Regions from separate parts of the Homo sapiens genome. Here regions 1, 2, 3, 4, 6 and 7 are each linked to region 5. The links are contacts of gene promoters, found by promoter capture Hi-C in blood cells and fetal thymus (Javierre and others, 2016). All regions are on one chromosome and are shown on one strand. Each heading gives the region's core, a stretch centred on a gene start or on the middle of the fragment in contact. The rest is flanking DNA. Distances are from core to core; before and after follow the strand shown.

The links. The method cuts DNA at HindIII sites, captures the fragments that hold promoters and counts their contacts. A CHiCAGO score of 5 or more calls a contact.
Region 1: a contact is called between a fragment that was not itself captured here and the fragment with the promoter of AHCTF1 in region 5, in 2 of 17 cell types (fetal thymus and non-activated CD4 T cells). The highest score is 6.0, in fetal thymus.
Region 2: a fragment that was not itself captured here is called in contact with the fragment with the promoter of AHCTF1 in region 5 in 2 of 17 cell types (non-activated CD4 T cells and fetal thymus); the score reaches 8.1 in non-activated CD4 T cells.
Region 3: a fragment that was not itself captured here is called in contact with the fragment with the promoter of AHCTF1 in region 5 in 2 of 17 cell types (fetal thymus and total CD8 T cells); the score reaches 5.8 in fetal thymus.
Region 4: a contact is called between a fragment that was not itself captured here and the fragment with the promoter of AHCTF1 in region 5, in 2 of 17 cell types (fetal thymus and non-activated CD4 T cells). The highest score is 8.8, in fetal thymus.
Region 6: a contact is called between a fragment that was not itself captured here and the fragment with the promoter of AHCTF1 in region 5, in 3 of 17 cell types (total CD4 T cells, non-activated CD4 T cells and fetal thymus). The highest score is 6.9, in total CD4 T cells.
Region 7: a fragment that was not itself captured here is called in contact with the fragment with the promoter of AHCTF1 in region 5 in 1 of 17 cell types (non-activated CD4 T cells); the score reaches 9.5 in non-activated CD4 T cells.

What each region holds. Positions count from the first base shown.
Region 1 is chr1:244,857,199-244,859,957 of GRCh38, reverse strand. HNRNPU (heterogeneous nuclear ribonucleoprotein U) reads left to right here. Exons shown (of 14, transcript NM_031844.3): 5 at 584-683; 6 at 1,117-1,229; 7 at 1,684-1,947; 8 at 2,241-2,360. Among named protein-coding and RNA genes, the nearest start is that of SNORA100, 4.4 kb to the right of the region's middle. The HindIII fragment of the contact is 302 bases long and covers 1,301-1,602 here.
Region 2 is chr1:244,464,343-244,468,571 of GRCh38, reverse strand. The region is part of intron 2 of CATSPERE (catsper channel auxiliary subunit epsilon); the gene reads right to left. Among named protein-coding and RNA genes, the nearest start is that of CATSPERE, 5.2 kb to the right of the region's middle. The HindIII fragment of the contact is 6,278 bases long and covers 1-4,229 here.
Region 3 is chr1:244,659,971-244,664,138 of GRCh38, reverse strand. All of the region lies in intron 1 of DESI2 (desumoylating isopeptidase 2), which reads right to left. Among named protein-coding and RNA genes, the nearest start is that of DESI2, 8.9 kb to the right of the region's middle. The HindIII fragment of the contact is 3,314 bases long and covers 1-3,199 here.
Region 4 is chr1:244,836,222-244,840,081 of GRCh38, reverse strand. All of the region lies in intron 1 of COX20 (cytochrome c oxidase assembly factor COX20), which reads right to left. Among named protein-coding and RNA genes, the nearest start is that of COX20, 2.5 kb to the right of the region's middle. The HindIII fragment of the contact is 1,385 bases long and covers 1,746-3,130 here.
Region 5 is chr1:246,929,609-246,933,522 of GRCh38, reverse strand. It overlaps AHCTF1 (AT-hook containing transcription factor 1), which reads left to right and starts at 1,575. Exons shown (of 36, transcript NM_001323342.2): 1 at 1,575-1,945. RefSeq lists enhancers at 1,193-1,242, 2,363-2,452 and a silencer at 1,923-2,022. The HindIII fragment of the contact is 4,479 bases long and covers 1-2,617 here.
Region 6 is chr1:244,442,738-244,446,906 of GRCh38, reverse strand. The region is part of intron 1 of ADSS2 (adenylosuccinate synthase 2); the gene reads left to right. Among named protein-coding and RNA genes, the nearest start is that of ADSS2, 7.1 kb to the left of the region's middle. The HindIII fragment of the contact is 1,046 bases long and covers 1,298-2,343 here.
Region 7 is chr1:244,642,718-244,646,532 of GRCh38, reverse strand. No RefSeq gene overlaps it. Among named protein-coding and RNA genes, the nearest start is that of DESI2, 8.5 kb to the left of the region's middle. RefSeq lists an enhancer at 3,258-3,811. The HindIII fragment of the contact is 7,093 bases long and covers 1-3,815 here.

The DNA of each region.
Region 1 (2,759 bases), core at 202-2,701, 2.1 Mb after region 5:
CTCCTAAGCTCAAGTGATCTGCCCGCCTGAGCCTCTCAGAATGCTGGAATTACAGGTGCTTCATACTGCTAAGTTATCAAAGGTACTTATTTTTGAAGCTTCCTGTAAATTAAAAGAGGAGCTTGGAACCTTCATTTTGTTGTGACAGTTAATCACGGTTGTTATGTTAGAACTTGCCATGCAGAGCTAGGCGATTTTTTATTTAGGGTACTTCATTTTTATCAAGCATTTGAAAGGGCCACCAAAGAGTTAAAAATAAAATTTGGTTACATTACTGCTTTTGTTGGTGAGAAAAACATTAATTGTATCCTTTAATTGGCTTTAAGTTAAAGACTGACAACATGAACTTTAAAAATATTAAGTATTCTTTTAAATATGGGTCAAATAAGTATTTAACTCTTTAAATTTCAAGTTATAAGCACATCAGTTTAAAGTTCTTACAAATATTGGGGGTGGGCTAGAGTGTGCCTTCTTTGTATTTATAGCTAGAGGAAGATTAGCCCGTGGCGCAATGAAATATGCGAGAGTTAAGGGGTTACCTCCTTGGTGTATTATTTTAATTATTTAATGATTTGACTTTCAGGTTACAGAGAAGATCCCAGTAAGGCATTTATATACAAAAGATATTGACATACATGAAGTTCGTATTGGCTGGTCACTAACTACAAGTGGAATGTTACTTGGTAAAGCTTCTTTTTGACTGATGTGGGCTCATGAATGTTCAGGAGGGTCTGATTTCAGTGTTTTTTAACTAGAGGGCATTCTAAGCCTTTTGTCTGTTTTTATCTATTCTGTTAATACTTCAGACAGGTAATATTAGCACATAGTAGGCACAGGCTACATTTTAGTTTTTGTTCCTTTATTAGAAGTTTATGACCAATGGTTGAAATAAAATCTTACCCGTGATATGCAAATCGTCAACTAATTTGGTCTCTGCGTATATATCCCTCCTAACTTCCATCAATTCTGGTACAGAGATAGAAAAGTAATAGTGTCAGTGACAGGTGATTAGGTTATATGCTTATTTCTCTTGTAGCCTACATCTTAAGTAGTAAAATAGATGAGTCTTTGGACTATTTTAAACATCTACTTCATGAAGATTAATTATTTTCTTAGGTGAAGAAGAATTTTCTTATGGGTATTCTCTAAAAGGAATAAAAACATGCAACTGTGAGACTGAAGATTATGGAGAAAAGTTTGATGAAAATGATGTGATTACATGTTTTGCTGTAAGTTAAAGCTAACTTTCTATGTATAAATGGCAAAGTTAGTAGCTATATCTAGGAACTTTAAAGAAGCTTTACTGAGGTCAGTTTTCAATATGAGCAACAAAATACACCAGTCCCTGGATTAGTGTAAAGACTTCATTCAGCAGTTGAATTGGGAAAACACAGGACATTTTTGAGGAACTCACTAATTCATTTTGACTGAAAACAGTGAACATGAAATTGACCTAGAAAATTCAGTCTAGCTTCTAGGTCAGTATTGTTTCTGGTTCTGGAGATACGTGCTTCATGGTTTACAACCATCAGATTTCTTAACTGTGTAGCCCTTAAAGGCCACCTAATAGTTCTTTAACCTGTAGCTTCCACAGGATAAGCTTTGCTCCTAATTTTAATTCTTAGTTTTTTAGAAAGTTTAAGGAAGCAGATTTTAACTGTTGAATTTTTTTCTGTGTAACAGAACTTTGAAAGTGATGAAGTAGAACTCTCGTATGCTAAGAATGGACAAGATCTTGGCGTTGCCTTCAAAATCAGTAAGGAAGTTCTTGCTGGACGGCCACTGTTCCCGCATGTTCTCTGCCACAACTGTGCAGTTGAATTTAATTTTGGTCAGAAGGAAAAGCCATATTTTCCAATACCTGAAGAGTATACTTTCATCCAGAACGTCCCCTTAGAGGATCGAGTTAGAGGACCAAAGGGGCCTGAAGAGAAGAAAGATTGTGAAGTAAGGGATTTTTTTTTTTTTAACTGTGGCATTTGAATATTGCTTGCCTGGCACAAAATGACATTTAGAAGAACTAGATGATTAGTCTGTTTCATTTACTTTGTGCTGTGCATATTGCTCTTAAGTAATTGTTTCCCCCTTATGTTGACTGTTAATCTTTCCATAAACAAATTTTTGTCCGTTAGTGTAAGGGCTATGAAAACTTAGATATTTAAATTGGCCTTAACAATATTTAAAGAATTATTAGGTGGTGTCTACTGACAGTGAAATGACATTTCTTTTCTTTTCACTAGGTTGTGATGATGATTGGCTTGCCAGGAGCTGGAAAAACTACCTGGGTTACTAAACATGCAGCAGAAAATCCAGGGAAATATAACATTCTTGGCACAAATACTATTATGGATAAGATGATGGTAAGTAAAATGTTTAGGGCCTGATCTCAGTGTTTAAAATAGACTGGGAGAGGCTGGGCATGGTGGTTCACGCCTGTAATCTCAGCATTTTGAGAGGCTGAGGTGGATGGATCACCTGAGGTCAGGAGTTTGAGACCCACCTGGCCAACATGGCGAAGCCCCGTTCCTACTAAAAATTTAAAAATTAGCTGGGTGTGGTAGTGGGTTCCTGTAATCCCAGCTGCTCGGGAGGTTGAGGCAGGGACAATTACTTGAACCTGGGAGGCAGAGGTTGCAGTGAGTTGAGATCGTGCCATTGTACTCCAGTCTGGGCGACAGAGCAACACTCCGTCTCAGAAAAAAAAAAAAAAGAAAAGAAAAATTATAGACCGGGAGGTATTCTAGGTAAACTTTTTGTCT
Region 2 (4,229 bases), core at 1,308-3,807, 2.5 Mb after region 5:
CTTGCCCTTTATCTACCTTTCTTGCTGATAATCAAACTCTAGGGTCCAATTTGCATTTCTAAAATGACATAGCTGTTTTGGTGGTCATTTATGAATTAAAGATGGACCATTTCTGCCACCTACATAAAAATAATAATGGAAAATCGAGATAAAAAAGATGATTCTTAAAAAGACCAATAAGGCTGGGTGTGGTGGTTCACGCCTGTAATCCCAGCACTTTGGGAGGCCAAGCTGGGCAGATCATGAGGTCAGGAGATTGAGACCATCCTGGCTAACATGGTGAAACCCCGTCTTTACTAAAAATACAAAAAATTAGCCGGGCGTGGTGGCACACACCTGTAGTCCCAGCTTCTCGGGAGGCTGAGGCAGAAGAATTGCTTGAACCTGGGAGGCAGAGGTTGCAGTGAGCCAAGATTGCGCACTGCACTCCAGCCTGGGTGACAGAGCGAGATTTTGTCTCAAAGAAAAAAGAAAAAAAAAAAACAATAAAATGGTCCAATACATGGCAAAACTGTCCAGGAAAGGAAGATAAAGTGCCCAAATAAACTCTATTAGAGACATAAAATAGCTAAAAATAGATATTGAAATGGTAAGCAAAGATTATAAACAAATGAATAGCAATAAATTTGAAAACACAATTGTAAAAGAAAATATATATTACATAGATTCCTCTTGCCTGGTATGGAATATTATAAAGTTTATACAGAATGTGTTCTTTTCTGTATGGCTACTTTCACAGAGTACAGTGAGATTCATCCATATTGTTTTGTGTTGACATGTAGACACAATGCACTTATTTTCATTTGCCATATAGTATCCTACTATGTGAATACACAGAAATGCATTTATCCCTCTATACTACTGATTGACATGCTACTGGGTTGTTTCTAGTTTGGAGTTCTTAGGAATAATGCTGTCGTAACCGTTCCTACATAGGTCTTCTGGTGCTGGATGTATACCTAGGAGTCAAACTAGTGTGTCACAGGATACGTATATATTCAACACTATTGGATAATAGCAAACAGGTTTTCAAAGTGGTTATACCAACCTGCATTCCTTCTAGTGGTGTATTAGAGTTCCTACTGCTTTACATTCTTACCACCCCTTGTTATCTTCAGTCTTCTTAATTTTAGGCATTCTGATTGGTTTGTAATTACATCTCCCTGTAATTTTAATTCACACTTCACTAATTTTTCATAAGTTTGCTGGTCATTTGTACATCCTTTTTTGTGAAATATCCCCTTAGGTCTTTTCCTCCTTTCTTTTTTATACTTTAGAAAAATTTAAACAATACTGAAATGATGTGCTTCTTAAAGATTTGGTAGAATTCCCACACAAAACCATCTGGGCCTGGTTCAAATTATAAATATTTATTTATTTATAAAGGGAGCACAACACTGATAGAAAACACAACAGAAATTGTTGAGTTATTTAGTAAAAATTAACTAAAGACTCCTGATTCTAATTTACGAGTGATACCACACAGTGCTAGGAATTGACTGTTGTGTATTGTATTCTCAGCCATGATCATTCATTCCTGCATAACTCTAGGCTATCCCTAGATTGCAGGAGCTGGAAACCAGGAACCCTCAAGGGTTCTGAACGACTGAAAATCAGATGTGGACTGGAACTTGTAAAAAAGAGGAAGCCATTCTTCTTCCTCAGGCAGTGGTACCAAAAGTCCAGGCTTCAAAGATAGGTGGTTTTGGGGAAGGCCTCTGTCCCATCTTTCCATTGAGCACCATCCCTCATTAGGTACTGGGAGAGACTTGTGACATGGGCACCTATTTCCTCCAGGTCCTGATCTCTGGTGGCAACAGCAACTTTTTGACTATTGATAAACCTAAAAATTAGTGGGGGTTTCTAAGACCCTTGCTTTCCTAGCCCTCCCAACAGTTTGGTGAGCACCTAATTTCCTGTAGCAAATAAATTTCTGCTTGAAATATCTAGAGTGGTTACTGCTGTCCTCTGACCCCTGACTGCTACACGCTCCCTTAAAGACAGGGATAATATGACAAGTGTTTAACAAGTTGTACAGCACAGACACTGACAGTTCCAAGCGAATACCAGGCAGCATGCTACCCAAGTGTGTACTGGCTGGATTCTGCCTGCCTTAGAGGGCATCTGGAAATATGGAAGAGTATCTCAGGTCACACAATCCCTGAGGATTGTCACTGCTACTTAGTGTTTGGGAACCAGGGAAGCAAGCTGTTCTGCAAAGCAAAGGATAGTTCCATACAATGAAAATTTTTCCTGCTCAAAATTTCAGTGGCATCCCCACTGAGATAACTGCTGTGGAGCAAACTCATGTATGAATATTGATAAAAGAATCTTATATAAAATATTAACAATAGTCCCTGAGAGCATATTGAACTACTACATTGGTACCGTGTGGGGTTTTCCCAAAATCCAAGGATGATACAATAAAAGTGAATATGTTAATATGATTCACTATGATAACAAGTCTGAGAAAACTCAAAAACTTTTTTCTGTAGACTGTGAAAAGGCATTTCACAATTCACTATAAGTATCACTTATAGCGACTATTTTTTACCATATTCAATAAATTAGGAACCAATGAATACTTAGTTAATTTAATGAAATGTATCTCTCTCTGCCCAAAAGGGAGCATCTGTTTAATTGGGAGATGTTGGAAGAAATCTACTAAAGTTAGGAAGAAGATAATGAGATCAACTCTGGAGGGCTACATCATTCTTCATGAATTGGAAGATTCAATATCATAATGATACCAGTTACTATGATAACAATGTCAGTTCTCCCCAAGTGCAATCCCAATCAAAATCTCAGCAGATTTTTGCTTGTGAAAACTAACAGCCTTATTCTAAAATTTATATAAAAACGCAAATAGCCAAAGTAGTCTTGTGGAAGAACAAACTAGATGTTCACAGGACCAGATCCGAAGACTCATTAGAAAGCTATAGCAGTTAAGAGAGTGTAGAATTGGCACCAGGACAAATAAGAAAGTTCACAAACAACTCATCTACATACGGAACAAAGGTGACATGAGAAAGGTAATAGGGGAACAGTGAGTTGTTTAATAGATTCTGGTTCATTATGTGAAAAAAGTAATGTGAATGCCTATTGTACTATATACAAGGCAGACTCTAGATGGATTTATGACCTATATTTTAAAGGTAAAAATATAAGAAATATAAACTAAAATTATAAAAACATTTCAGTTCAGGGTAAGCAAATATTTTTATTAAATAAGAGCCCTGGACAGGCGCGGTGGCTCAGGCCTGTAATCCCAGCACTTTGGGAGGCCGAGGCTGGTGGATCACGAGGTCAGGAGTTCAAGACCAGCCTGGCCAATATGGTGAAATCCCATCTCTACTACAAGTACAAAAATTAGCCGGGCATGGTAGTGTGCACCTGTAGTCCCAGCTACTCAGGAGGCTGAGGCAGAAGAATCGCTTGAACCCGGGAGGCAGAGGTTACAGTGAGCCAAGATTGCACCACTGCACTCCAGCCTGGGTGACAGAGTGAGACTCTGTCTCCAAAAAAAAAAAAAAGGAGCCTCCAAAAGTTTAAATCATAAGGCAAAGGAGGGGAGAGATTTGGCTCATCAAAATTCAGCTTTTTTTTTTTTCAGTAAAGTATCCATGAACAAAGTTAACAGAAACTTGAGATAACTGAATCTTTGAAACCAACATTTGATTAATTTTTACAACGCAATGTAGATAGCACTGTGTTAACGAGTAAGAAAAAGGCAGAAAATTAAATGAAAAATAGGCAAAGGGTATGAACAGGTAATAGAAGGAGAAGCCTACATAATATGCGAAGAGATGCTCAAAATCACTAGTCATCAAAGAAACTGAAAATAACAACAGCAATAGCTATCACTGGATAATAATGAGATTGGTAAAAAAAAAATAGGAAATTTAATAACACCAAATTTTGGTGAAGATGTACATTGAGTGAGAATATAAATTGTAACTGCCATTCGGGAAACAATCTTGCGGAACTTTGTTAAATTAAGTGTATTTCCCATGGCCAGGCAACTCTATTTGGCTACATATAGCAGGAAAATGATTGCACAGATACACAGATACATAAAAGGACCTATAGAGGACACTCATTCCAGTATTGTTTGTGATGGTAGGAAGCTATATGTCCAGCAATAGGGGTATATAAAATATAATTGATTTACACCAGTAATTAGGCAGATAAGAAGAAATGAAGTAGAAAGTGTTGAATAAGAAAAGTAA
Region 3 (4,168 bases), core at 293-2,792, 2.3 Mb after region 5:
ACCACAGTTATAAGATTTAGCTATGTTAAATGAGTATTGATGGCCATGGCCTTTCCTTTTAGTGTAACCACCCCATTGTTAAGTTCTTAAATAATTTTTTTTTTTTTTTTTTTTTTTTCCTGAGACGGAGTCTCACTCTGTCGCCCAGGCTGGCGTGCAGTGGCGCAATCTCGGCTCACTGCAACCTCCGCCTCCCAGGTTCACGCCATTCTCCTGCCTCAGCCTCCCGAGCAGCTGGGACTACAGGCGCCCGCCACCACGCCTGGCTAATTTTTTGTATTTTTAGCAGAGATGGGGTTTCACCGTGTTAGCCAGGATGGTCTCGATCTCCTGACCTCATGATCCGTCCACCTTGGCCTCCCAAAGTGCTGGGATTACAGGCGTGAGCCACCGTGCCCGGCCAAGTTCTTGAATAATTTTTTAACCCCCAGAAAGGTATCTACATATTGTCTATGTCCTTTTGTACATGAATGACAACTGGAGAAGCTATAGTATTCAGACATAAATCTTTTCCCTTTTAATACTCTGTAGATAATGCTCTACTTTATTATTCAGCCTTTGGTATAAGCAAAGAGAAGTCTGAAATTAGCCTGATTTTGTTCCCGTGTAACTTTTTTGCCTTTGTGTATTTGTAGGATTTTTTACTTTATTCTTAAAATTTGCAGCCAGGTGCGGTGGCTCACGCCTGTAATCCCAGCACTTTGGGAGGCTGAGGTGGGCGGATCACGAGGTCAGGAGATCGAGACCATCCTGGCTAACATGGTGAAACCCCGTCTCTACTAAAAATACAAAAAATTAGCCGGGCGTGGTGGCAGGCGCCTGTAGTCCCAGCTACTCAGAAGACTGAGGCAGAAGAATGGCGTGAACCCAGGAGGCGGAGCTTGCACTGAGCCGAGACGGATGCCAGCCTGGGCGACAGAGCGAGACTCCATGTCAAAAAAAAGGAAAAAAAAAAACTGCAAGTTAAACCAGGCTTTGGTTGAATGGTCCTAACTTTTAAAAAGTTTTGCCTATCACTTGATCCTTTTGACCCTTCTACTTGAATTTCTGACTTTCTAAATCTTGTTGTTTTCTCTTTAGTTCCCAATCTAACTCCCTTTCTAGTTAAAAATTAGGAAATGGTGCTTTTCATTTTTGTGGAATCTATCCTAATCCCAGATTTTTCCCTTTCTGGTGGTACTGCTTGTTCTATTTTCAATGATCCTACTGAATCTACCTGAGAACTTAAATCAACAATTCCTTAAAAACTTCTCTTGTTTCTTGCTGTACATTTACTTAACAGGTAGCATGTGGCCCGATTTACAGCCTTGATGTTTGCTTACCCTCTGTCTGGAACACTTTCTCCTTTCTACATGGTATACTTCACCTTTCAGGAATGCCTTCTTAGTGAGGCCTTTCTTGACCACTCTCTTTGAAACTGCAGTAACCGGTAACTATACCATCCTGACTTACACTGTCCCTCCCCTTCTTTGCTTTACTTTCCTCTTTAGCACTAATTACCACTTACTATCTCATATATATTTTATTAGCTTTATTCTGTTTAATAGACAGTTTAGATAGATGAGTTTGGCATTATTTAACTATTTTCTGGATAAAAATTTCAAAAAACAAAAAACATCCTGTTTTCATCAATGGGGGTGGAGGGAAGAATATGATAGAAAAGATGTCAGTTCTTCCCAAGTTAATTTATAAGTTTAGTGCAAGCCCAATTAAAAAAATCTATGGACTTCTGGGTATATATCCAAAAAAATCGAAAGCAGGACTTGAATAGACATTTTTATTTTTATAAACCCATGTTCACACACCATTATTCATAACAGCCAAAGGATGGAAGTAACCTGTGTCTAATGACACTGAAAATTAGCTTGATTTAGAAAAAAACAAACAACCCCATCAACAAGTGGGCAAAGGACATGAACAGACACTTCTCAAAAGAAGACATTTATGCAGCCAAAAGACACATGAAAAAATGCTCATCACTGGCCATCAGAGAAATGCAAATCAAAACCACAATGAGATACCTTCTCACACCAGTTAGAATGGCGATCATTAAGAAGTCAGGAAACAACAGGTGCTGGAGAGGATGTGGAGAAATAGGAACACTTTTACACTGTTGTGGGACTGTAAACTAGTTCAACCATTGTGGAAGTCAGTGTGGCAATTCCTCAGGGATCTAGAACTAGAAATACCATTTGACCCAGCCATCCCATTACTGGGTATGTACCCAAAGGATTATAAATCATGCTGCTATAAAGACACATGCACACGTATGTTTACTGCGGCACTATTCACAATAGCAAAGACTTGGAACCAACCCAAATGTCCATCAATGATAGACTGGATTAAGAAAATGTGGCACATACACATCATGGAATACTATGCAGCCATAAAAAATGATGAGTTCATGTCCTTTGTAGGGACATGGATGAAGCTGGAAACCATCATTCTCAGCAAACTATCACAAGGACAAAAAACCAAACACCGCATGTTCTCACTCATAGGTGGGAATTGAACAAGGAGAACACTTGGACACAGGAAGGGGAACATCACACACTGGGGCCTGTGGTGGGGTGGGGGGAGCGGGGAGGGATAGCATTAGGAGATATACCTAATGTGAATGATGAGTTAATGGGTGCAGCACACCAACACGGCACATGTATACATATGTAACAAACCTGCACATTGTGCACATGTACCCTAGAACTTAAAGTATAATAATAAAAAAAAAGAAAATTAGCTTGATTTCTGTGGCATATACATACACAGTGGAATATTACTCAGCCTTAAAAAGGAAGGAAATTCTGATACATGCTGCAACATAGATAAACCCTGAGGACTATGCTAAGTGAAATAAGCCAGTCACAAAATAAATACTGTATTATTTCACTTAAATGAGGTTATCTAGTCAAATGCACAGAGACAGAAAGCAGAATGATGATTACCAGGGACTGAGGGGAGGGAGAAATGGGGAGTTGTTGTTTAGTGGGTATAGAGTCTCAGTTTTGCAAGATAAAAAAGTTCTGAAGACTGGTTGCACAAAAATGTGAATATACCTAACACAGTAGATTGTATAGTTAAAAACGTAAATTTTATGTTATGTGTATTTTAACACAATTAAAACAAAACAAAAACCTATGGAATTTTTTTCAGCGAGCCTTACAAAGTACTCCTAGAAAAGGAAATGAAGGCCAATAAAGCTTTGGAATAATAGTAAAGGGAAACTGGCCTAATCAGATTCCAAATATAACGTGAAAGTATAATAATTAAAACAGTGTGGTAATAAGGCTAGAATCAACAATTCCGTATGGGTAAGAATTTAGTATTATGATTAAGGATGACATCACAATTTAGAGAGGAAAGACTTATTTCAAATAATGTGGGGCCAATTAGTTGATTTTTAATTTATTGTTTTTAAGTTACTGTCACATCTATACCAAAATACATTCCAGATAAACTAAAACAAAATTATTTTCATGCATCCCATTGTCCTTTTATTATTATTTTTGCCTTTCTTACAGTTTAAGATTATTTTGGCAGTTTCTCACTTTACATTTTATGAACCAACTGGCTGACATTTACACAATAATGTTGCTTTGGAATTCAAATAATCTTGTAGAGAATTCGACAGTCAACAAACGGAAAGTGTAAGTACATCCCATCTTAAGAAAAATCCGACCGGGTGCGGTGGCTCACGCCTATAATCCCAGCACTTTGGGCGGCCGAGGCAGGTGGATCATGAGGTCAGGAGACTGAGACCAGTGTGGCCAACATGGTGAAACCCTGCCTCTACTAAAAATACAAAAAAACTAGCTGGGCATGGTGGCGCACGCCTGTAGTCCTAGCTACTCTGGAGGCTGAGGCAGGAAAATTGCTTGAACCCAGGAGGCGGAGGTTGCAGTGAGCAGAGATGGCGCTGCTGCACTCCAACCTGGGCGACCTCTGTCTCAAAACAACAACAACAACAACAAAACAACAACAAAAAAAGAAAAATCCATAAAACAAAGAATTCATCTAAATAGTAGGCTCTCTGGTATTTTTAAAGTATCTGATTTACAAGTTTCAAATGTTTTGTTAACTTTATCCACCATTATAAATGTGACCATGGAACTGATATACACTGGAACGGTATGCCACTGCAAGTCTGAAGGGGTTTTAGTCACCAATACGC
Region 4 (3,860 bases), core at 1,189-3,688, 2.1 Mb after region 5:
CACATCTTATTTAAAATAGTGCCTTCTGAAACAAACCCAATCCCCAACAAAACTCTGGTCTAAAATAATAGTGGTTGATCTCATAATTAAGAGCTGCTGGTGGGGGAGGTAGGTATTAGTGCCAGGCTCTCTACATGTTTTTTAATTCTCTAGCCTTTGTGTGAGATTACCTCTGAAACAGGCTCGGGGACTTAAGAGGCTAATAATAAGTGTTGGCAGGAGTGGAGGCAGAAGTCAGTTTCACCACAAAGCCTATGACATTTTCATTGTGCCAAACCACATCATTAAGAAGTAACCAAGGCTGGAGGGTTTGGTGGGGAGCTTTCCAGTTGTCACATATCTAAGGAGTAATAAGATTCAGTACATAAATCCCTGCAATTTCTATCAAAACAGGAAGAATATGCAACGACTTGAGCCTGTATACCTTTACAGTTAAGTACACTGAACTGTAAAATGCTCAGAAGTGGAGATGAATAAAGGATCCCGGGCATAACTCCCTTTGAAGTATTCTATTTATATACGGAAATATTCTGTTCATAATATACATGCCTTTAACATTTCTCTTCTATTCCTTAAGTAGCCTGCATACTTAAGATTTAACTCTTTGCCACTAACAAACGGGAACCCTTAAAAATAAATTAAGGAAATGTCAGACATTTTTTAAGCTTAGATTTAGAAAAGCAGCTTTACCAGCTCACCCTGATCAATCTAAGGAAAGCTCAAGAGATTTCCAAGCCAGAATGTCAATAATGTATAGAAATAGATCTGATCAAATTAGAGACAGTTGATTTTCCACCACTAAATCTGCTTCAGTGCCCGTATTTCTTTCCTCTGGTTGCAAAGGATGAATTGGCCCTATTCCTATCTAATGCTAGTCTTCCCACTTGGGCACTTGATTCCCCTCTTGCATACTCAAGGGCTTGGCTTCTATAGCTACCCCTTTCATTTGCATCGTTAGTTTTTTCACTTGCAATAATTTACTATCAGCCCTCTTGGCCAGGTGCAGTGGCTCACCCGTCATCCCAGCACTTTGGGAGGCCAAAGTGGGTGGATCACTTGAGGTCGGAAGTTCGAGACCAGCCTGGCCAACATGGCAAAACCCTGTCTCTACTAAAAGTACAAAAATTAGCCAGGAATGGTAGCACATGCCTGTAATCCCAGCTACTCGGGAGGCTGAGGCAGAATCGCTTGAGCCCAGGAGGCGGAGGTTGCAGTGAGCCAAGATGGCACCACTGCACTCCAGCCTGGGCAACAGAGCAAGAAGACTCCATCTCAAAAAAAAAACCCAAAAATCCTCTATACACCCCTCTCCTCTCATCAGCCACCTAAACCACCATCCTTTTGGGGCAAAACTTCTGAGTGTAGGTGTGCTTTTCTACTTAAAACCTCCCATTCTCCCTTTAACTCACTTGAGTGAGGCATCTATCCACTGAACTTCACTTGACACCAGTCAAGACCTCTAAAAGACATCCACTGCAGTCTAAATCCGCATCTCAGCATATGTGGCACAAATTATCATTTGTTTTTGAAACTTTTTTACTTTTACTTGGCTTCAAATACGTCTCCTGGTTTTCTATTTCATTGACATTTTTGTTGCTGTTCCCTCCTCTACAGACCTGATTCTGAAGTGCCACTCTTAACTCCTTTGGAATCTAGTCTCTTCCTAGGTATCCCAAGGCTTTCAATTAAATGCCATTATATGATGACTCCAGATTTCTAAATCAAACCCTAATCTCTCCCAAGCTTCAGCCTCATTCATCTGCTTAATGAATGACACTTTTATGTATAAAAAGCACCTTGAACCTCGTATTTGCAAAATATATTTTCACCTCCAAACCTTCCTCTTAATGGCACACTACTCAACCAATTTTCAGACCCAAAAACTAAGAGTCATCCTTGATTCCTTCATCAAATCCACATCAAATATATTAGCAAGTCTGGAAGGATCCACATTCTAAATACATCCTGAGCCAGACCACTGCCCACCAACTTCATTGCTAATACAGGTTGAGCATCCCAAATCTGAAACTGATACATCAAAAGACAATTTTTTTTTTGAATTGGGAAGCTCAACCTGTCCTATCAAATTACCATCTATCAACAGTACCTTTCAGATCTTGATTCTACTCATAAAAATGTGTATCAGATGACTATAATAAGTCCTCTGTAGCCTCCGATTATGCTCAGAATCCTTACCATTGCTCCAAAGGCCCTACATGATCCCATGCTCTTTCATATCCTACTCTTGTCCACTAGTCCAGGTACAGTGGCCTTGCCATTCTAACAAGCCGAGATGGTTATTACCGAACGAACACATGCTGCCTTTCTCCTGGATCTTTGCATGACTGGCTCAGTAGAAGTCTTGCTTATTGATTCCTCCAGTAGAATGTCAGCTCCTTAAAGGGATTTTTCCTGTCTTGATCAGTCTAGTACCTCGTTCAGTGTCTAATACTCAGTAGGTACTCTAAATATTTTTTGAATGGGTGAATTAAGAATTTACCTGAATGTGAATTTACCTGTATGTACCAAATTTCACATTTTAAAGTTTCTTAAAGGACAAGAATGTGGCAGAGGACAGTTTTTAGGGGCTAGTTCTATCAAGGTATGCCAGCTTGGTAACTCCCATTTTTACTTTAGGTTTGCTAATTCTTATAATAAAATAATCCTCCCTGGGTTGTGCTGGAATGATCACTGACAAATTCTTTTAAAAAAAATAACCGCAGGCTTCCTTTCTGACAGCACCTTGGGCTGTTAATTCATCATAGCTTCTATTAATTTAATTAGCTTTTTGATGGGCTCTGATAGGTACTACTGTTTCATGAGCAATTTTTGTTTTTTTGGCCTCCCACCTCTGACTGTGCTCGGTTTGAGGCTTATAACTATCTTCATTTCAACAACTACAGTATTGTTTTGCTACTTACTGATGGGCCAGTTAAATAGGTCAATGTTGATCCTCTTTTAAGTTTTTTTTTTTTAATTTCCAATGGATTAAACCACCTTTATGACCTTTAAAAACAGCAGTTATCTCCTACCAAAAGTCCCATTCAGGATTCCAGTGTTTATCACAAAACTGAATCTAGGATTTACTGTGTGTATGCAAAGATCTTTTTTTTTTTTTAAACACTAAGCTTATTCCAGATGGGCAGTGTATGGGACAGTAAAAACAGATAAGGCACCAGTAGTACGTAAACTGACAACCTGTTGGATATTAAGTATGAAAACAATTTATACAATATTTGTTAATATTAACCATATGATCTGATGTCATGGCCAAATTTGGATGGAAGCCCACCAGAGAAGCAAGCAAGAGCAAGAAGTGAGCAGAATTTCCAAGCTGGGAGAATATCTTAAGTATATATTAGGAGCCATTTAGCACACAGTGGGTCTTCTATAAATATTTGCTCGTGATTAGCCAATGTTACGATCTCCCTAGTTTATATTAAACTTTTTTCCTCTTGCATTATTCTTTTCTGAATACCTGTTCTGCCCTGAGGATATAAATTAGGTTCCCTGCTCTTAATAAGGAGCCCAGGAAAAGAGGAAAACAAGATCATTTATTACCTTCCAATATGATAAATGTAACGACGTACAAGATGCCTGGGAAGATGGGGAAAGTACGTAAGTCAGCTTTGGTGAAACACAGGAGCCCTTCCAGGGAGAGCGCTTGGTTTAGCTTTACTATACCAAGAATTTGGGTTTTATCCTTAAAGAGATAGGATGGGCTGCTACGACTGGATGTTAGGCAGAGGAATGAAAACTGTCCAGTTTACAGGCTGGAAAGGGCCAGCGGACAATAGTGGAAGGTGGATTCAGGAGAGTATGGAGACAGGGACACCAGCTAGGGAGGCTACTGGTGATGG
Region 5 (3,914 bases), core at 326-2,825:
AGAGGCTGAGGCAGGAGGATCTCTTGAGCCCAGGAGTAGAGACCAGCTTGGGTAACACAGTGAGACAGTCTCTACAAAAAATAAAAAATAAGGCCGGGCGCGGTGGCTCACGCCTATAATCCCAGCACTTTGGGAGGCTGAGGCAGGTGGATCACGAGGTCAAGAGTTCAAGACCATCCTGGCCAACATGGTGAAACCCTGTCTCTACTAAAAATACAAAAATCAGCTGGGCATGGTGGCGCACACCTGTAGTCCTAGCTACTCTGGAGGCTGAGACAGGAGAACCTCTTGAACCTGGGAGGCGGAGGTTGCAGTGAGCCGAGATTGTGCCACTGCACTCCAGCCTGGTGACAGAGCGAGACTCCGTCTCAAATAAATAAATAAATAAATAAATAAATAAAATAAAAAAATTAATGGGACGTAGTGGCGCATGGTGGTCCATGCCCATAGTCCCAGCTACTTGGAGGGCTGAGGTAGGAGGATCATTTGAGCCCACGAGTTCGAGGCTGCTGTGAGCCTTGATTACACCACTGCACTCCAGCCTGGGCGACAGAGCGAGACACTGTCTCAAAAATAAAAAAATTTAAAAAGCACATATGAAAGGTAACAGAAAAGTAGAAACTTTCCTGATAAAAGAGCATCTTCTTAAAATCCCTACTCTACCTCATGTTATAATCCTTTTACTTACTACTTAGTATTAAGGATACGTTCCCTATCTGTTTGAAACATGTTTGGCGCTGGGATTTGCTTCAAAGGAAGATACTAACAAGAAATAAGAAATTCCACAATGAAAACCCGCGGTGACCAAAAAGATAACAGTGATTTGGGGTAAAATTTTGACTAAAAAGATTAGGCTAGGCTGCGCGAGCATTTTTGGCCATGAAAGCACAGGAGGATGCTAGAAAAAACAGCACCGTGGAAAAAGCGTTTCCCCAGAAGTCTGGGAGCCCACCTTTGGCATGAAAAGCGGGAGCACAGGTTGTAGTGAGCCAAGATCGTGCCACAGCACTCCAGCCTGGGCAACAGAGCAAGACTCCGTCTCCAAAAAAAAGAAAAAGAAAAAAAGAAAAGTGGGAGCACAGAACAGAAAATACAGAATGCAAGCTGCCAATTATGGGAGAAAGATTATCACTCGGCCCCCAGCTGGCAGGGCCACACGATTACGTGACAAGAGAGTCCGCCTGCAATCGCAGCAGGCGGCTGGCAGAGCCCGGCGCGACCCCCAGCGAAGACTACCACTCCCAACTGCGCACGGGGCGCGCCGCCGGGGCCGCCAGGGCGGCTTCACGCGCAAGGCACTGTGGGACTCGTAGTCTTTCTCCCCACCAGCTCCTCGGAGGCGGAGAGACCCGATTTTTTTGTAAATGATCCGCCCTTCCAGGCCCTGCTTCTCTTTCCTCCCTTTCCCTCCCACCTCCTTCTTTCACCGAGAGTTTGAAAATTCCCGCGGAGCCGGCGCTAGAGCGCGGAACCATCGCGAGAACTCTGGTCCCTGCAGCCGCGATCTCCCGCCGGTTCTCCCCTCCCTCTCCGCCCTTTCCTCTGCTCCCTCCCTTCCGGGGCGTGTGGAACTCGGTTTTGTCGGCGCAGGGTAATGCGCAGAGCGGGGCCGGCGCTGTCCGAGGCGAGCAGGCAGCGTTGCAAGGGGAAGGACCCAGAAGCGCGGCGGGAGCAGCGACTGCGTTTTAGCCGCTGAGCGGTCTGCAGGCCTACAGCCCGCGAAGGCACTCTCGGGGGCGTGTGGCTCTGAGGTGGCCGGGGAGGTCGCAGGCGGCGGCCGGAGCGCAGAGGAGCGGCTTCAGCCGGGCGGAGGGGTGTGAGCCCGGCCCGTGGCGGCCACGTCTCCCGGGAGATGCTGTGACGGACCCGCACGGGAGGAGCTCGCGCCTGGCCTGGCGACCCGGTGGACTCGGCCCGCGGCGGCGCGCTCACCCGCCCCGTTCAGGTAGGGGGAAGGGAGGGAGGGGGTTGGGCCCGCGCGGCGGAGGGCGGGTCGCGCGGCCTGGACCCGCGGCGGCGGCGGCGGCGGCGGCGGCGGCGGCGGGGCTTCTGCCCCGCGAGCGCCGGGCCTAGGCCGGGCGTGCGCGGGGCCAACGGATGGGGCTCGAGGGGGCGAGCGGTGGCGGTGGCGGGTACGGCAGGCTCGCGGGCGCCGGGCTTCGTTACATAATCTCGGACCGGAGGAGCGGCGGCACATGGCGGCGGAGCGGCGCTGGTGGTTCGCGTCCTGCGCCGGCAGTCGGGTCCCTTTACGGACGGCCGGGGCCGCGACCCTTTCCCACTGTTCTCCCACGCGATGGACTCGTTGGCGGGCCTTTCCCCGAGGGAAGCGGCCGGCGTGCTGAGCCTGTCCTGTGTTGGCGTGTGTTCCACATGCGCTTGGGCCTGGCCACAGTGAGTAGTCCTGGCGGGGAAGAAGTTGGACTCGGGGCTCAGCCGTGAGGTTCCAGCTCACCCGATTGGTCAGATCAAGGAGATTTAAAATAAAAGCACATCTTGGGGTGCTTTGCCTTCCTTTTTCCTACCTGGGAAACAGGACGGTTTCTTTTGCCACTGGTTGACTGTTTTGGTTTGGGTGTTTTGTTTTGAGAGATGGGGAAATTTTGTTCTCAAAGCTTACGAGGTTCATACTATCTGTGTGCAAAGTTTTATGAGATGAGCGTTATTTTTATTTCCAAATCGTCAGTTGTAGAAATTTTTGGAAGAACTGGGTTCTTCATAGAACAAAACGTAAATCCTTTGGGGAAATCCTAAACGATATTTATTCTCAGAATATCCTAAAGAACCTGTAGATTTTAAGAACTGTCTTTGGCTGGGCGCAGTGGCTCCTGTCTGTAATCCCAGCACTTTGAGAGGCTGAGGCGGGAGGATCGCTTGAACCCAGGAGTTTGAGACCAGCCTGAGCAACATGGCGAGACCCCCCCTTTTTTTTTTTTAAACTGTTTTTTTGTGAGCTTTCACTGATAGAGTCTCTTAGGAGAGAAGAAATTAGAGTGGTTTACTTATTTCGGAGGATTTGACCTGGGATGACAAGCCCAGTTAAGGTTAATACTTGAAGGGATGTTTTAAGTGTGCCAAGCGCTATGGGAAGTCTACGTTGTCTCTGTACTGTGATTTTTGGATCCTGATCCTTCAGTAACATACTACCAAGCTGTCACGAGTTTGCAAACAACAATAATTATCTTGAAAAAATTTTTAAAACATCATGTCAACCGGGAATTGGTGGCGCCTCTAGTCGCGCGCCTACTTGGGAGGCTGAGGCGGGGGGAACGTTTGAGCTTCAGCCTCAAACTGAGAGTTCGAGGGTTGCAGTGAGCTAGGATCGCGCCGCTGCACTCAGCCTGTGTGACAGAGCGAGAACCTGTTGCTAAAATAAAATAAAAAAGATCGTTATACATCAGTTTTGAGACTTTTGTTTTCTTTTTATGCTTCTCCTTTTTCATAGGTACAGATACATCTTTTTTTTTTTTTGAGACGGGGTCTTGCTCTGTTGCCCAGGCTGGAGTGCAGTGGCACAATCTTGGCTCACTGCAACCTCCGTCTCCCAGGTTCAAGCGATTCTCCTGCCTCAGCCTCCTGAGTAGCTGGGATTACAGGCGCACGCCACCACACCCGGCTAATTTTTGTATTTTTAGTAGAGACGGGGTTTCACCATATTGGCCAGGCTGGTCTTGAACTTCTGACCTCGTGATCCGCCCGCCTTGGCCTCCCAGAGTGCTGGGATTACAGGCGTGAGCCACCGCGCCCGGCTGGTACAGATATATTTTAAGAGGAAGCAAAACGTTGTGTCTTTCACGCCTACCTTTAATATTTTCAGGGACTTTTCTTTCTTCCCAGAATGAAGTGTAACTTCCCTCGGTTAGCTCAAAGGTCTCTACAATAAGTATATGCTACTGTCTATCCTCATATGTTAA
Region 6 (4,169 bases), core at 571-3,070, 2.5 Mb after region 5:
TTTTATTATTGAGAAAACTTTTTTGACTTGAAATCTGTAGTTTAATTTCAATGTGTTTTTAAGAAAATATTTTCATGAATTTAATTAGGTGAATTTTTATCAAACATTTACAAAGAGCTGTGTGACATCGTTGGTTTATACATTTTTGGTTGGATGTCTTATGGCCTCATCTATGACCCTGGTTTGGTGAGTGTGAAAGAATATTAGAGTTTGGTACCCAGAGTCTAAAGCTTCTTAGGAACCTAAGATTCTCTCAGGCAAGGCCCCTTTCCACTTTCATTGTGAGAAGTTATTTCATAATAGTAATGTTAGGTCTAAAATATAAGGTATCTGAGGTTTTCATCATTTGTGACATTTATGTGTGTATGAAACTAGAAGGTAACTATAATCATGCAAAGTAAAGTGGATACCTTTAAACCTTTAATGGATAACTGAGCTGGGATATCTTTGCTAGAAAGAAATTCAGATACCCTGTGTATTTTTTTCTCTTGCTGTCTAGTGTGTCTGGTTACTGCTACATAGTTAAATTTGATCAACTTGCTGGTAGTAACTTAACCTGCTCTACTTTGGAATCATAAGCTAATTGCAGTTATGTGAATGCTTTCATGAAAGAACAATCATCATTTATAACTGCTTTATTGCTGTGGATTGATAAGTGCTTTAGTTTTGGTGAATGGTAACATGTTTCATCTGGAAAGGAGGAGACACAGATCTTACAATCTTTACCCTGAAAGCAGCATAGATAATAAGCATTGACTCCAAAGATTTTTAGGCTCTTAAGAAGTTTGAAGATTAGACAAAAAAATAGCAACCCTTTTTTGGTTGCTGAAATAGTTCAGGGGCATGGGATCTGAGACACTGCTGCTCTCTCCTGTAATCCATAGTGGCCACTGACTTCCTGATGTTCATTTTGAGCTCTGTGATTACAGTAGGTTGTTCATATATTCAAAGCAAAAGGACAAAGATAAGACACAGAGGCCTAACTAGCCTGAAAAATGCCTCTGGGCTTTGTGCATGAAATTGGTAGCCCTTGACACTTGGGCCTGTATTCTGGAAAAGAGACCATTGTTTCAGGTTTACAACACTGAGGATCATTCACTGCCTTCATCTCTCTACCACAGCAGAAATGCACTTGGGGGAGCGAAGAAAGGAGTGATTTAGGGAAGGAGAAGGCCCAGTAGTGAAACCAAGTTAAGAATCAAGAGTCACTTTTGTAAACTAATATCATTTAATTCCTTTCCAAACTTTTTTTTTTTTTAACCTCCCCTGGACCTTTGGAGCTTCTTAGCTAGAAGCTTACACATATTAGCATTTCCTGATCCAAAATTTTATTCTATAATTGGATTTGACAGCCTCTGGTTCTGAGGAGTCATGGAAAGAAAATTCAAAACACTTGTCTTCCGACTTCCTTAAACTAAACATCAAATTAGGAAGAAAAGGAATGCATGGAAAAACTGAGAACAGTTACAGAATAACTAAATACTATTATATCATTCCTCTATCCTGCAGTAATGCTTTAAAGTATTGTCCTTGACAGCATAAAATGTTATTAATATCTAGCAATCATTTTAATATTCAGTTTCACTAGTACAAGATGTAAATTCAGCAAGGTGTATATTATGTTGTAGTAAGTTTTTTTTGTGAATCATTTGTGTTCTTTGTTTGCAAGCAATGGAAAGAAACTATCTCAAGCAAAATGGGGATTTGTTTAAAGGAAGAGCAGGATGGTGGCCTGAGATGAAGCCTGCTCCTGGAATTTCAGCAGCTAGAACTGGCAACCTTTTTCTTTAGGATGCTTCCCGTAGGTGACAGGCATCTCAGACTGCTATTGCTTTCCTTCTCAGTACTCAAATTCAGATTCCCAAGGGAGAGGAGCTGACTGGCTCAGGTTGGAACATGTTTCCCTGCCTGGATCAGTTTGCTGTGGCTGGGGGGATGATTCCTATGATTTGCAAAGTAGGGGAAAAGGAGGGGGACTGAGCATACAAAAGCTATAACTAACCTGGAGTTAATTTTGTATAGGAAAATAAGGTATGAGGAAGCATTTGTTCTGGATTGTTCTCATTTATAAATTGTTTTCCAAAACTCTAATGTGCTATTGACCTGTAGTGCTTTTCTGGAACAAAAAATAGAGTTAAATTGGTTTTTATTATTTTAACCTTAATTAAAATAATGAAAATTAGCTATGTATTGATGGTAAAAACTAAAAGCATACATCAGAAACTTTGCTTTTCAGCTTTGAGAACATAGAATTTTAGTCCTGCTTTTTGTTTCTATCATGATGTTCCAGTTTATTTCATAGCTCTGTGATGAGATACATTTTTTCCTGGTAATTAAGAAGCTTATTTAATATTTTCTTTGTATTTCATCTTTTTTTTTTTTTTTTTTTTTTGAGATGGAGTCTCGCTCTGTCGCCCAGGCTGGAGTGCAGTGGCGGGATCTCGGCTCACTGCAAGCTCCGCCTCCCGGGTTCACGCCATTCTCCTGCCTCAGCCTCCCAAGTAGCTGGGACTACAGGCGCCCGCCACTACGCCCGGCTAATTTTTTGTATTTTTAGTAGAGACGGGGTTTCACCGTTTTAGCCGGGATGGTCTCGATCTCCTGACCTCGTGATCCGCCCGCCTCGGCCTCCCAAAGTGCTGGGATTACAGGCGTGAGCCACCGCGCCCGGCCTGTATTTCATCTTAATGTAAGAATAACAGTCAAAGAAAATTGGTAAAATATATACTATATTAGGGGATGTTTTGTGACTGCAATTGAATTTTCTTTCATATATTGTTCACTTTAATAAAATTAACCTGCATTTATTCTTGGTATTTAATATAAGAAGAACATCATATAAGGCATTATAAGCTTATGCTTTTCCTCAAAGAAACCTGCCACGTAGCTACTTGTGGACTCATGCTGTTTTTTGTTTCTTGGGGTGTTGGTGGGGGGTAGGGTATATTTCAGAAGTAAAATGGTTTAAAAATTGGCCTCAACCTGAAAGCCTGCCATGCAGTGTTGTGGCACTGATGGAAGTGTGAATGAGAAGGCGGTGTCAGCACGTGGCTGGAGAGCCGCTCCGCCACTCTGCCACTCCGCCTCCCTGCCACGTGGCTTGTGAGGAGCCACTAAACCTTTCCGTGCCTAGGCCTCCCCATCTGTGGAATAGTCAGTACCACCTACTTCATAGGGGTGTTGTGCGGACTGAAAAAAACAATGTCAAATGTTTTTAATATTCAGATGCAAGGATGATGTCTGAAATCTGTACTGTATAAAGGCTACACAAAAATGGACAGACATTTGGTTGACTGTGCCAGATACCAAAAATGTACGTTCAGAAAAGCATTTTACCAACTCAGAAATATGACTTATTTCTAGGAAAAACAAAGTTCAAAAAATTATCTCTGAGATTTATTACTAAATGTTTTCCCTGTTGGATATAATTGATCCAGAAACAACGTTGAGATTCCACAGCCCTTTGTTTATATAACTATTAATTGAACATATTCTATTTTTTTGTTAAGTAATATAGAATATACAGCTATGATAATGAAAAGTATTTGTTAAATGCTACAAGAGTGACTGGGATCATAAGTGTTACGGGAGTTTGGCAAAGAAGCAGGAGGTAGTTAGTGTAACTGTTAATGTGATTATAAGACTAATACATTTGTGGGAGATAACTTACCAAGTTTGGTTTGTGGAAAATTTGGATTGAGAAGGAAATTGTATGTTTCCGTTAGAAGTAGAACAACAACAACAAAATATCTCCCATCATTTGTTTGGTACTATCTGGCCTCCCCAGTGCTGCTTGGGAGAATCATGAAACATGATGAATCAAACACATCCTTGCTGTTGCTCATCCTGGCACATATTACACAGAGTTGCCCATGGGCCCATGTAGGAGCAGCTCCATCTGCCCTTCTAATACATAGGTGGGAGACTGAGGGGGTGCTCGTATTTGAAACTGTTTTTGGTTATGGTGCTCATATTTGAAATGCTTTGTTTTACTGTCTGCTAATATGTGACCTCTCCTTGAACCAGTATAATCTCTGTTTGAGGACAATTGCCTGAGCTCCCAAGGTGAATTTTGCCTATTTACATAATCTGAATATTTTAGGTTAACATCCAAATGGGCACTTCAAATTTCTTTATCTGTTGCATTTTATAAAATACAGTATACTAAA
Region 7 (3,815 bases), core at 971-3,470, 2.3 Mb after region 5:
TCATTGAATATTGTTGTTGATGTGAATGTGAACAGTTTCTCATCCTCTTTTCTCACTGGGATGGAAAAGAACAGATTTGCAGAGTCAGTAGTTGCATGCCGTATACCCAAGGTCTGATGAATCCGCCCTAGCAGTGACACCATATCTGGCACACCAGCTGCAACTGGTGCTATTACCTGGTTGAGTCTGCGGGAGTCAACAGTCATTCTCTAGGATCCATCTGTTTTCTGCAGACTGGCGATTAAACAAAGATACAACAGGGACCACCAACCCTGCATCTTTTAGGTCTTTAATGATGGTAATAATATCTGCCTCCCCCTGCAACCCGCCAGAATAACAGTTTTCTCACTTTGTCGGGGTTTGTGGAGGGGCCAGTTTCAGAGGTTTCTATTTGGCCTTTCCCACTCTGATTGCTCCTGCTTCACAAACCAAGGGCCTCGATGTGGGCGTTACTCCCACGGCCAAGTATATAATTCTAAGTATGTGCTTTGGAGACTGGGAGAGGCCCCGGGGTGGGTGGAGCCACTGTGGCTCTCATAGGCCCTCACTCTAAAGGGGAGGCTTGATGACACTTTGGGTCTCTGGGTATTAATGTCAACTGAGACCTGTGTGTAATAGTCCTCAAAATGTCTGCTTATTCCTCTTTCCCCAGGAAAGTCACCTGAGTAAACAGCCACAGGTCTCTGGGGGAATTGTCATGGTATATATAATACTTGCCACAGTGTTGCAGGATCCTTCTTCCTGGGAACCTGGCCGCCTCTTCAGTCAATGGGTTCTGGGTCTGAAAATGTACTCTGGGTCTCGGGACTGAGCAAGGGACCATGACTTTTTACTGGGGCAATGTCCCTCAGCCTCTTCTTTCATTCTTGTTTGTTATTATTATTGTAGACATTAACCAACAGCCTTGTAGGTCGGGGGGCACCTGTTGCCCTGTGAGGCCGAGGCTTCTGCAGCATCTTGTAGTACAGCAAAAGGGCTAACCCTTAATAGGGAGCAGTGGGCCATCTCTGCGTGCCCAGAGGCGGGTGGGAGGGGTGGAGGTTGCAGAGCTCAACACCTTCAGAGGCATCCATCCAGATTTTCCTGTCCTAGTTTTTAGGATCAAAAGTTTTCTCTACCAGGGCCTCAACGGCCCAGTAACAGACCTAAAGTAGCTGTGTGCAAACATTTCTGGAGCCCTGTGACTCCCAGGTCTTCAGCTTAGTGTTCAATTGTGTCTGCCTTTTTACTATTGGTGACGATGACCTCTTTATAAGAGACACTGCTTTTTATTCTTATCTCCATTAGCTGCTATGGCTCTCGGTCTCCACTTTGTGCAGGTCATTAGTATAACTCAATCATGTCTTTGTGATCCCCATGTTTTTCAAATCCCTTTACCATTGCACCTGCCATAGCTTTCCCCTCCACCAGGACATTTCCTCGGGTCACTATCAATGAAAACATTAAAAACTGAACCACCACCTACAGCCCAGGACTATCGCTGACCACATATCCCTTAGGATGGCTTCCTGTCTGCCTTCTGGGTGCTGGGTGAGCCAGTCCCAAATTACCATCTGACTGCCTGATTTCTCAGACCGCTCACTTATGACTTGTGCTAATCCAGGTCCTCTGAGAAACAGTTACTAACATGGGATTCAATGTGCAAGGATTTCATGCAGGGAAATACTTGTGTGAAAGGAAATAAAGAGCTGTGGAAGTTGAGAGACTTACCAGAGAGAGAGCGCGGGAGAGAAATGGTGCAGATTGAGATTGGATAGAGTTGCCTAAACTGCTGTGCAATCTAAGGAAGGTTTGGTAACACCTTCGGGAGTCCTTGAGCCAGGCTGATAAGAGTCCTGTGTCTACCAGCACTGGGTCTTCCTTAGTTTCCTCACTGCACTCGGTCACAGGTGGGGAACAGCCTGAGGGGCTGCAGGCTTGGTGCAAATGTGGTGATGAGTTTCAGAGGGCAGCAGCTGATGCTCTGGGTCAATTACACTCCTGCAGTGGGAGACTTGTGAGGGACAATCTCATGGCCTCCAGGAACCACTGATCTTCCTGCGAGCCTACTTACCACTGTGACAGGAGGGAAGCCAGAGTTCATGAGTAATGAACTTTCACGAAATATTCAATTCTTAGTTTTCAGCACAAGATCTAATTCTCTCTTGCTGACTCGAGGATTTTGATCCAGCGATTACCTCTTTCCTCCTGTATCATCAGTTTCTCCTAGCTACTGGATTATTTCCACCCATATTCAGTAACCTCTTCCTGACCTCACTTGTGCTCAGGTGCCTGCCATTTCTTTGCTCCTTGTCAAAAAAAAAAAAAAAAAAAAAAGTGAGGTGGGGGGAACTTCTTGAAAGAGTTGTCTGTACTTGCCTCCACTTCTTCATTTCCCAGCTCTTTGCTCACAGTAAGAGCAGCTTTACTTTTTATGATTAATTAAAACATTTAAGTACAATGTGGTGGGAAGTAGGAAGAAAGCAAATAGCATCCAAAATTACATCATTTTGTTAGGGGGAAGGGAAGGACAGGGAGTGATTTGTTAAAGCAGTGGTCCCCCACCTTTTTGGCACCAGTGACTGGTTTTGTGGAAGACAAGTTTTCCATGGACAGGGCATGGGGAAGGTGGGGAGCGGGAATGGTTTCAGGATGAAACTGTTCCACCACAGATCATCAGGCATTAGATTCTCATGTGGAGTTTGGAACCTCCATTCCTTGCACGTGCAGTTCACAATAGGGTTCGCACTCCTACGAGAATCTAATGCCACTGATCCGACAGGAGTTGGAGCTCAGGCGGTAATGCTCTGGTGGGGGTTGGGGACCCCTGTGTTAAAGGATACAAATTACAGCTAGATAAAAGGAAGAAGTTCTCCTGTTCTATAGCACTGTAGGATGACCGTTAGTTAATAATGATACAGAGTTTCAAATAGCTAGAAGGAGGATATTGAATGTTCCCAACACAAAGAAATGACAAACGTTTGAGATAATGGATGTGCTAATTACCTGATCTGGTTACTATACTTTATATGTATAAAACCAGCACTATGTACCCCATAAATATGGACAATTATTATGTCAATTAAAAAATATTTTCCTCAAAAAATGACATCATTTGAAGTTTGGTGACTTCCTTTGTCTTTACGTGCATACATATTGGTTTACATAGAAAGAACATTTTCCAGGCTGCTTTTCTATTGTTCCCCTTCACCCCAGTTTGGAGGGCCTTGTTTCTCTCTCTCTCCATCTCCATCTCTTGATACAGCCCCACGCCCCCTGTCGTGTACACACACGTGCATGCCTGCACACACAATGGTACGTATACTGCTGAAACGGGGCAGGTTCTCTTATCCCCCTGGCAGGGCATGCGATAGGCGTGTGGCTTGCTTCTTTGGTTCTCTGCCGCTCACACCTCTGGGAGAGCATGCAGACGGGCAGGTTGTGGGGCTCCGACCCCGGGCAATGTCTAAGGGCGAATGTTTACAGCCGAAGCCCCAGTGGGTGTGTGTTACAGGGTGTTCGTTCAGTTGAGCTGTCCATAGCAGCATGTGTTAATCAGCTCAATGAGGCCCTTGCCTTATTGCAAGGACAGAGGCTTTCTGTATCTTGGGTTTCTTGCCTTAGTGTACCCGAAGAATCAGATCACACGTGGGCTTGATTGAAGAATGAATGCAAGGTTTTATTGAGTGGAAATAGCTCTCAGCAGATGGGGGAGCCAGAAGGGAGATGGTTTTCCCCTGGAGTCGGGCACTTGGCAGCCAGTCTCTCCTCCCACCGTCCCGGCCAAACCCCCAAACTCCGCGTGGTTCCGCTGATCAATGGCCTGCCGGCTGTGC